Regions from separate parts of the Homo sapiens genome. Here all the other regions are linked to region 1. Evidence: promoter capture Hi-C in 16 types of primary human blood cells and fetal thymus (Javierre and others, 2016). All regions are on one chromosome and are shown on one strand. The core of a region is centred on a gene start or on the middle of the fragment in contact, and the rest is flanking DNA. Distances in the headings are between cores, read along the strand shown.

Region 1 (3,416 bases), core at 917-3,416:
CACTTTTTCAAGTCTTTGAGGAATTCCTAAATTTATAAAAGCTAACAACAAAATACATTCTCGATCCATATAACACAGCCTCGTATTTCAATAACAGAAATATCATTTGGAAACAAGCTATTCGAAATTCAATCTGTTATTCTCCACTTCCTTCTTCATCTTAACCGGAATGATGGCGTGCAATTAATTGATTTTTAAAAATACCTGTTAGTACTAACTCTTACATTTAAAAGATGTGGGTACTTAAGCATGTCTCTGAAACTAACTCCTTACCTATAATGTGAGCTTTTTTTTAAAATTATTATTGTTTTTTGAGACAGGGTCTCGCTCTGTCACCCAGGCTGGAGTGCAGTGGAGCAGTCATGGCTCACTGCAGCCTCAACTTCCTGGGATCCAGTGATCCTCTCACCACAGCCTCCCAAGTAGCTGGGACTACAGGCACTGCGCCCCCATGCCCACCTCATTTTTGTATTTTTGGTAGAGACAGGATTTCCATGTTTCCCAGGCTGTTCTCGAACTCCTGGGCTCAAGCAATCCACCCATCTCGACCTCCCGAAGTGCTGGGATTACAGGTGTGAACCACCTCACCCAGCCTGATGTGAGCATTTTTTATTCTCGCCGAGAGGCTTTCTAGAGAGTCAACAAACATCCTACCTGGAAATGTTTTTTTTTTAGGAACCCAAGACAAGAAAGGATTTATCCTTTACAACCCACCATCCCCTTGGCAAGGTCGAGGTCTGAATCAAAGAACCAGAGTGGCTCTGAACTCCTATGATGAAAAGGTTTATCCTTTCTTATCTTGAAAGCTCTTGAAATTAGCAGTAAATTGCATAGAACTTTACAGTTCTACAGAACTTACAGTTTATGGATGCTTCCACAGAAGTTGCAACTTTATTAACAATTCCCTGAGCCAGAAAAAGGAGGAGCTAGGCAAGAGAAAATAATTCATCAGTGGTCCTCTAGACCAAAGGCAACAAGGCCCCAAATTCAGCTTTTTTATCCTCTTCCTAGGGTGCTTTCTACACTATACGTTATTTTTAAAATACCATTTACTAGTTCTCATTTATATTTAAAGCATTTCCATTTGGTATAAAATAGAACTTCCTATTTTACAGACATCAAATGATTGTTCCTGCAGTCACTGAATGCTTTAGCACTGCAATTCAACATTGGTATTTAACTGCTTAATGGCATTTTTATTACATGAGAAAAGGGTATATGCCCCAAAACTCCTTACCTGGGTTCTGAGCTTTAAATATGGGTAGTTGTTCTTTAGAAAATCGAAGGTAAGAACTTACAGGTTTCTTTGGACAACTTGCCAAGACAGATGAAAACCACCTCGGTAAATACACAAAACTACATATAAACAAAAAGAAAATAACCAGTGTCAGATGTTTAACTGTCAATATTCACATGTATATGAACACAGATCCCAAATAAGAAATGTCATCAAGATACTATGTATCCAACGCCTTCAACAAGAATGCTAGAGACTTATTAAAACCCTGTCCTAAACGGAGGGGAGCGTCTGCAGGACTGAAGTCTCAAAGCCCTTACCTCCTAGGAAGGGCAGGGAGTGAAGGAAAGCGTCTATACTCCAGCTCCTGGGCCCCGCCTCCTCAATGCCTAGATGATGGCCGGAGACTCGGCGCGAATTCGCAGAGGAGGCGGAAAGGATCCAAAGCTGGACAGTGAGGAGGGATGGGAGAAGCGAGTGGAGGGTAGCAAGAAGGTACGGCGTATTAAGAGAGTAAATAAAGGCCTGGTCTCAAGGCCACCGTCCCCTTGGCAAGGTCGCGGTCTGAATCAAAGAACCAGGGTGACTCTGAACTCCTAGGAGGGGCAGAAAGTGAAGGATAGGGTCTACATTCCAACCCCGGGACGTCCTGGGCCCTGCTGCCCCTAGGGCACAGGCAAGCGGGCCTACCTGAAGGGGGAGCGCAGTCGACTTCCACAGCCGGTGCACAGCTCTGCTCCAGACCTTCCCAGGGCACTCAGCACGCCCCACATGCTTCGGAGAAACGCCATCGCTCCGGTGGATGAGGCAGTGACCCGACCCCAATCTCGGAGAGCCTCCTGGCAATACACAACTCCAGCAATCACAACTGGAACCCGCGTGCGACCCTCCGGCGTGTGTTATCATGCCCGCCACTAGCGAGGCACTATGGGAAATCTGCTAACATCCGGTCGGTAGATGGGGGCGGGGCGGGGCGGAATTGGCGCAGGCGCGGGAGAGCGTACCCCGGTGGGCGGCCTTGCGGGGGAGGAATAAGAGCCGCGGAGATGAAGGGAAACCGCAATCCTCTAGCCTGCGGAGGGCTCTGGCTTCGAGGCGGCGCTGTTGAGCCACCTCTGTCCCCGGCCGCCCGGAGCAGTGGGTTCCTCTGCCGGGCCAGGAGGGTGATGGAGGGACCGCGGCGGCGGCCTCACCCCAACCCGGCGTTGGCCGGTGTCCGCCCGTGACGGTCACAAGGGCTGTACGTAACAGACAGTCCTGCATCCAGGACCCCGAGGTCCGATCGGCGGCTGCTGCGCGCCCAGCGGAGCGTCTCAGTTCAAGCCAGGGCTGGAGCTCGGAGTTCAGAAATAGTAACGGGAGAGGCGGGGATTCGCAAACCTAAAAATGCAGATTCCAAGGCCTTACCGCAGAGCTTAATTCCGTGTGTCTATGTGGGGCCCATTAATCTTCATTTTAGCGAGTTCCCCAGAATTTAACAAGTTCTAATGTCGGTGGTCTTGAGACCACATTTAAAGCAATATAGCTTTAGACTGTTTATTCTACCATCTACTGCAGTCTTTCAGTCTGGCCTCCAGCTTGCTTAATTTGAGCAGAGGAAACTGGCTAGTTGTCCACAGTCGCTAGTCTCAATTCTTCTAGTTCCAGTATTAACATTAACGTCTTGACTTGGGAATATTGCATTCCCTCGTTAAGATTCAGTTTCCCCCTCTGCAAACGAGGATGTTAGACTAAATCAGTTTTCCCAGCCAAAGCCCTGAGAACGTGTGACAAGTATGCCTTGAGACATTGATGTGTCAAAAATTGCTGTATAATTTTTTTATTTGTGTTATAGAAATACCATTTTCTGTATAGGCAATGGCATGAAAAAGATTAGGAAGACCTAAAGATACCTAAGGGTCCTTCCAGCCCTTAAATACCAGTTGTTTCAGAGCTAACCACCTTCTGAGACAGCCTTTCTTCTGTTGGATAGCCGTAATTGTTAGAAAATTCTTACCAGTGTCATATTGAGCTGACAGTCTATTTACCTTTCTGTAACTATGAAAACATTGGCTCTCTGGAAGTAGGACTAAGCCTACTTCTTCTTTTAAGCGGTAATAACCACTTCCCTTTTATAGACTCCCAGGGTTGAAAGGGACCTTCCAAGTCATCTGTTCAAACCTCCCATTCTGGCATGGAA
Region 2 (3,416 bases), core at 683-3,182, 160 kb after region 1:
AAGATAGTTATATTTAATTATGTATGTTAAACAAGATAGAAAAGTTTCATTCATAGTAACCTTGTGTAATCTTTATTTTTAAATTTTTTAAAATTTCAATAGGTTTTTGGGGGAATAGGTGGTGTTTGGTTACATAAATAAGTTATTTAGTGGTGATTTCTGAGATTTTGGTGCACCCATCGCCAGAGCAGTGTACACTGTACCCAGTGTGTAGTCTTTTATCCCTCACCCACCTTCCGCCTTTTCCCCGGAATCCCCAAAGTCCATTGTATTGTTCTTATGCCTTTGCATCCTCAAAGTTTAGCTCCCACTTATGAGTGAGAACATATGATGTTTGGTTTTCCATTCCTGAGTTACTTCACTTAATATAATCTCATACTATCATCAGCATCATGAAATACATAAATATTTTGGGCATGAAAACAATATCCTTGGTAAAGCCACAGAGTGATCTTATGTAGTCTACTTAAAACAGCAGGAAGTGTTATATTTCTGAACACGTGGTATTTTCATGATCTTTACCTCAGAAAAATTAAGGCACTATAGAAATTCTTTATATACTTTCTATAAATTAATAAGTGATAGGTTATTAGCCATAGCCTCTTAAATGTAGCTTTATTTCTAAACATAGTTACCTCTTGAAATGAACTCCACATATTTATGAAGAGTAGATATCCTTTTATTTATTATACAAGTACCAGCACTAAGCTTTACAGACTCTCTGTCTTAGATCTGGGGTTTACAAGTGCCAGTCCTTAGACTTCTGCAGGACTCACTTCATAAGAGTCCTAAATAGAGTTTCCAGAGTTATAAAAGTAAATCTAGTTAATTGTGCTATCTTTATGATACACACACGTCTATGAGAGGTATATAGATATGTAAAATTAAGCTCTATTCTAATATTCAAAATTCTGCCTTTACTTGTAAACTACATCATGTGAAATACTCATAATTATTTTACAAGATATTTTCCAATCATCATATTAATATAGCCTAATTTATATTCTTGACCTTGAACAGAGTGAACTTAAACTATTCCAGATAGAACACATCTATCTTACCAGGCACATTGGCTCTCACCTGTAATCCCAGCACTTTGGGAGGCGAAGGTAGGAGGATTGCTTAAGGCAGGAGTTCAAGACCAGCCTGGGCAACATAACAAGACTCTATATCTACAATAAATTTTAAAAATTAGGCCAGGTGCAGTGGCTAATGCCTGTAATCCCAGCACTTTAGGAGGCTGAGGCGGGTGGATCACCTGAGGTCAGGAGTTCAAGACTAGCCTGGCCAACATGGTGAAACCCTGTCTCTACTAAAAATACAAAAATTAGCTGGGCATGGTGGTAGGCACCTGTAGTCCCAGCTACTCAGGAGGCTGAGGCAGCAGAATTGCTTGAACCCAGGAGGTGGAGGTTGCAGTGAGCCAAGATCACACCACTGCACTCCAGCCTGGGCGACAGAGAGAGACCCTGTTTCAAAAATAAAATAAAGAGAAAAGAAAAGAAAAAAAATAAAAATTAGCTGGGTGTGGTGACATGCACCTGTAGTCCCAGCTACTCAGGAGGCTGCAGCGAGAGGATCACTTTAGCCCAGGAGTTTGAGGTTGCAGTGAGCCATGATTGTACTGCTATACTCCATCCTGGGTGACAGAGTAAGACCCTGTCTCAAACAACAATAACAACAGAAATCTATCTTATTTTTAGTTCATTATATTTTTTTGGATCAGTCTTAGAACAAATTTCTTATTTGCTGTCATCTTTTTTATGTTATTATTGCATCAAAGAAAACCTAGCTGTAGTAATCTTTACTGTAGTAATCTTTACTATCTATAACCTTGACTAATCTGTAGCTTTTTCTTCAGAATTTAAAAAAAAAAAAATAGGCAAGCTGAGCTTATGGATGATGGGGGAAGGAAGGATGAAATAGTAGTCTCAGAGGATGGAAAAGTGAGGAGATTTGGGAAACAGATCATGATAGTTGAGCAACTTTAAGGGCATACTTGAGGTTAGTGGTCAGATTGAGTGTGTTTTGCAGTCATGACACATGCAAAAGAGAGTTACTTTAACTTGAGGTGAAATCAATATGTAATAAGTAGGTTTATTACATATAAGTATTCTTTTTAATATAACTAAAGGCTAAGGCTTGATATTAGCCTGAGGGTTGGAGAATATCCATTATCAAGTGCATAATTGAGTTATGAATACATCTTTTAATTTTGTGTGTATTATGCTTGTCTCATCTGGAAGGGTAAGAATAGACTCCAGGGAATCATCTTCTATTTTTATTTATACTGAATATCAAAGTTAGACCTGTACTCATTGGTGACCTAACATGGTTAGCAGGTTTTAATACTTATCAGTGACTTACTTGTTTAATATTTATATATACTTAGAGGTAAAATGAATAAATATTCAGTGAGTACCAAATACGTAGCAGCAATTATGCTAAGTGTAATGCGATTTCAACTCTTCAAAAGCAGCTCTATGAAGGCAGGTTTTTATCTGTTTTCTTCACCTGTGTGCCTTGACAGTAATTATATATGGAATGTATGAAATTTTATTTTGGAGGGGATATGGGAATGTGTAACCTGCATTTATGGGATGAGGACTGACACTATGCTAAGTGCTTTACTGTATATTATCTCATTTAGTCTTCTTAATATCCCTGTGGTAGAGTCTGTAATTATCTGCATTTTACATATAATTGAGGTTTTGAGAAGTGCTCCTGAGGTCACAGGCTAGCAAATTATAGAGTTGAGATTTGAGCCTCCTTTTTCTTCTTCTAAAGCAGTTGCTTTAAACTTTATCATCTCAGTTAAGATTCTTTGGGCACAAGTTATGGAAATGAACTTGAACATGATTAAGCAACAAGGAAAAGTTCTTATAAGGATATGAGGGTGTCTTATGAAAGCCAAGGGCCATGCATCTGAGTCTAAGATGGGACTGGAACTAGAATCTGAACCCTATCAAAGCCCAGGGAGATCTCTCTCTGCATATTTACTTAACCCTTCCTCTTCTCTCCTCTGCCTTCCTTGCTATCCACACCTCTCCCCTCCCTACCAAGGGACTTACATGTTACAGTACCAGTCACCCACAGAGGTCAGCAACAGGTTTTCTCTGCATTCCATTTCCAAATTGGCAAGACTGACCAAGCTTGTATCAGATATTTGCTCCTGCCCCAGTCAGTGACTGTGGGCCATGGGCTGGATTCCCAAAGTATGATGGTGTTGGCAAAGGGACCACTTCTGTAGGACTGAGGATAGTTCTTGAGCTGGGCAGACATGCTAATGACAGAGTGACATTCTATCTAGTCAAGTGTTTTTAAAACTTCTTTGTCTAAAAGGAAAAAAACAAGAAAACACTGGGCCTTTAGGGCATGGGGGGAATAAACTTCTTTGTCTATGATACGTAATAAAT
Region 3 (3,416 bases), core at 352-2,851, 140 kb after region 1:
AAGCTTTCTTCATCTCTGTTATACCATGTATTTTATTTCTACTATTTCCACTAAGTTCTTAAAGTTTCTCTCTGATGGACACACTTGTCTTTTGTTTTCTTTTCTTTTTTTTTTTTTTTTGAGACGGAGTCTCGCTCTGTCGCCCAGGCTGGAGTGCAGTGGCACAATCGCGACTCGCTGCAACCCCTACCGCCTGGGTTCACGCCATTCTCCTGCCTCAGCCTCCCGAGTAGCTGAGACTACAGGCGTCCGCCACAACGCCTGGCTAATTTTTTTATGTATTTTTAGTAGAGATGGGGTTTCACCATGTTAGCCAAGATGGTCTCGATCTCCTTACCTCGTGATGTCTTTTCATCCATGTTGTGTACTTTTTCTATTACAGCTTTAACATATTAATTATGGTTAAGTTCCCCTGTCTGATTATTTTAACATCACTGTCATTTCTGATACTGGTCTGTATTTTGCTGTATTTGTTGACGGTATTATTTTCCTTGCTTTTTTATCTGTTGTAATTTTTATTAAATTCTGGTGGGCATCATGTGTAGGACTGTAGCAAACTGAAGCCAACAGTATTTGTTACTGAAATGATTATACCTCTTCTGCTTGACTGGTAATGTTGGTGATTTGAACCAATCTAATGAGGAGTTGAGATAAATGTAAGTATTGTTGTTATAGTTGGTTTCTGTTATGGACTGAGTGTTTGTGTCCTTTAAAATTCATATGTTGAAGCCCCCCTCCCCTGTAAATGTAATCATATTTGGAGATTGCACCTTTATGGAGGTAATTAAGGTTAAATGAGGTCATAAGGGTTAAGTCTTGAACCAACAGAATGTATCATTATAAGAAAAGGCACTAGAGAGTTAGCTGTCTGCCATGTGAGAACACAGTGAGAAGGTGACCTTCTACAAGCTAAGAGAGTCCATACTAGGAACCAAATCTCCCAGCACCTTGGTCTGGGACTTCTAGCCTTCAGAAATATGGAAAAATAAATTTCTGTGGTTTAAGCTGCTCAGTCTATGGCATTTTGTTATGCAAACCCTGGCTGACTAAAATACTGTCAGTGCACCACAGATTTGAAATTCTGCTAGTGTCGTCTTTTGTTTAGGGTGGGTCTGATTTGCCAGAGGATTTTTCTCAGTATTTCTGTTTAACTGTCTACTTTAGGTCTTCTTTGTGCACCTAGGCCTCAGAGGTGGTTTTCTCTATGTTCGTGCCCCTCCCGCAAATGTAGATTACTATTATTTTTTACTTGGTGATAGCTACCCTGGTGCTAGGCTGCAGAGGTATCCTCTATTGTCTTGGCCCAGATTCAATGTTAGGTAGGCTCTGTGATCCTAAGTTTTGGGGAATGGGACTTGTTCAGGTATCCTGCCCCTCTTTCCTGTAGAAGTCAGACTGCCTTCTGCCTTCAGCAAGTCGTTTGTATGAGTTTCCTTCCCACCCCCAGCAGTAGGAGACCTCTAAAGTTAGGACTGCATATGATTTCCTGTCTTCCTTCACCCTCCCAGTGTTGGAGAATATTTTTCTTTATTCTTCTGCCATCCACAATGGCTTGTCACTTGTTTCTTGGGGACAACATGATTTGCTGCTCTTACCTCAACAACTTAAGACTTTTGATCCAGAGGGGAAAAGGGTCTTTTTTAGTAGTGGTGCTTCACTTCCTTAATGCCTGTACCTCTGATGGTCACTTTTTCTGGCTTTCTGCCTCTCTCCAGTCTTTTTCTTGACGGCCTGGAAGAAAATGCTGCAAGTGTTTGCAACTTCTGGGAGTTCTATACCCTCACTGGAATCTACACTTTGCCATTAGCTATTTGTTAAAAATTTTAGCTTTATTATTCTAACCCCCTTGTAAGGTAACCCCACCTTCCCATTCCGCTCCATGGGTGAGTCAGTGCTCTCATTTGTCTTTTTTTTTTTTTTTTCGTGGTGTATGTCTTCCTTTAGATTTCAAGTCTGTTGGTTATTATCTCAACACTTTGATGGTTTCGTGAAAAGTTATGATTTTGTAGATTATCTAGCTTTTTCTTGCTTTTAGGTGGGAGCAATGCTTCTTCCAGCTTTCTATATCCTAGGTGGAAACTTGAAAGCCCAGAATTTTTTCTCTGGCCCATTCTCTTTTCTCTTTATGGGACCCCAACTACACATTTGTTAAAAACTCTTGGTATTACCTTATGGGTTTCTAATGCTCTATACATTTTTTTTTTCTTTTTAGATACTTTTCTGTATTTTCTTTAATTTAGATATTTTGTATTGGTCTTTGTGAATGTTCATTGCTCTGTTCCTCTGTGATTGTTTATCTGTTGATTAAATCCCATTAATTAAATTTTTTATTTCAGATACTGTGCCTTTTCAGTTTTAGAGTTTTTTTTTGTAGTTTATCTCCTGAAATACCTAATCTGTTTAGCATTTGCATTCATCTTTTTCTATTGTTTCTTTAGCATATTTATACTTTTTGTTTTAACATGCTTGCTTGCTAATTACAATGACTTGGTCATCTGTGTGTCATCTCCTATTATGTTTTCTCTTGATTGTGCTTTATGTTTTCCTGATATTTTGAGTATGTGTCATAATTTTTTCTTGAATCTAGGGCATTTTATTTAAAGAACCGTGGGAAGTGATGTGTACTATTTTTTGTTTTGTTTTGATCCCCCGTGCAGTACATGCCCTTTCCTGTGTTTAGGGTAAGGGACTGAGTTTAGTTGAGCTAGTGCTAGGCTGCAGTCTCAGTTTCAGTGTATCTGTTATTGGCTCAGCATTCCAAGGTGCCTCCTTTTTTATCTTGACAGTTTTTGAGCTGGGGGTGGGGATTTGGTTGCAGGCTCAGATACTGTTGGTTTACTGTTGGTTTATTTGGATCCTGGAATTCACTCACCTAGAGAATGCCGAGATTACCACCTTCTGTCTTCTCAAACGTGAGGGGTTATGTTGCAGGGTGAGTAATATGGGAGACATATTGGACGAAGCAATCTCTTTTTGTGTTGGGATTATTACAGTCTCTAATCCATCCTGCTATCCCATGCTGTTGTCTACCGCTTGGCTGATTACTGCTTGCCTGATAAAATGTATTTGTCTAATGGGAAGATCACCTGTATCTAGACCAAGGTGTTTGCCCCAAGGCAGGGAAGCTGTCATGGTTCTCTGCTTACTTATGAAAGTTCAATTTTTATTTTCCTCTGGAATTCTATTCATCAAAGCTTCTTTACTCATTTTAAGCCCCACAGAAAATGTTATAACCATGGGAATAAAGGCCTTTCTTGTGCTCCATCTGAACCTTCAGGAACAGAATTCTTCTTCAGAAATTTTTAGTTATATTGGACTACTCTTTGAAGTCTTTTGACTGTTTACCAACCAGTCTTATACAGAAAGATTAATATTTACCTACCTTCTATTCTATATCTAGGCCTTTTTAAAATTTT

Evidence for each region. Contacts are between HindIII fragments. The CHiCAGO score rates a contact against its expected background, and 5 or more counts as called.
Region 2: a contact is called between a fragment that was not itself captured here and the fragment with the promoter of TFAM in region 1, in 2 of 17 cell types (monocytes and neutrophils). The highest score is 7.1, in monocytes.
Region 3: a contact is called between a fragment that was not itself captured here and the fragment with the promoter of TFAM in region 1, in 4 of 17 cell types (neutrophils, monocytes, activated CD4 T cells and 1 more). The highest score is 10.4, in neutrophils.

Annotation. Positions count from the first base shown.
Region 1 is chr10:58,384,160-58,387,575 of GRCh38, reverse strand. TFAM (transcription factor A, mitochondrial) reads right to left here and starts at 2,166. Exons shown (of 7, transcript NM_003201.3): 1 at 1,928-2,166; 2 at 1,238-1,356. The coding sequence starts at 2,028. RefSeq lists enhancers at 1,766-2,422, 2,616-2,715 and a silencer at 2,106-2,485. The HindIII fragment of the contact is 8,486 bases long and covers 1-3,416 here.
Region 2 is chr10:58,219,827-58,223,242 of GRCh38, reverse strand. The region is part of intron 3 of IPMK (inositol polyphosphate multikinase); the gene reads left to right. Among named protein-coding and RNA genes, the nearest start is that of IPMK, 46 kb to the left of the region's middle. The HindIII fragment of the contact is 2,444 bases long and covers 711-3,154 here.
Region 3 is chr10:58,239,164-58,242,579 of GRCh38, reverse strand. The region is part of intron 1 of IPMK (inositol polyphosphate multikinase); the gene reads left to right. Among named protein-coding and RNA genes, the nearest start is that of IPMK, 27 kb to the left of the region's middle. The HindIII fragment of the contact is 3,191 bases long and covers 6-3,196 here.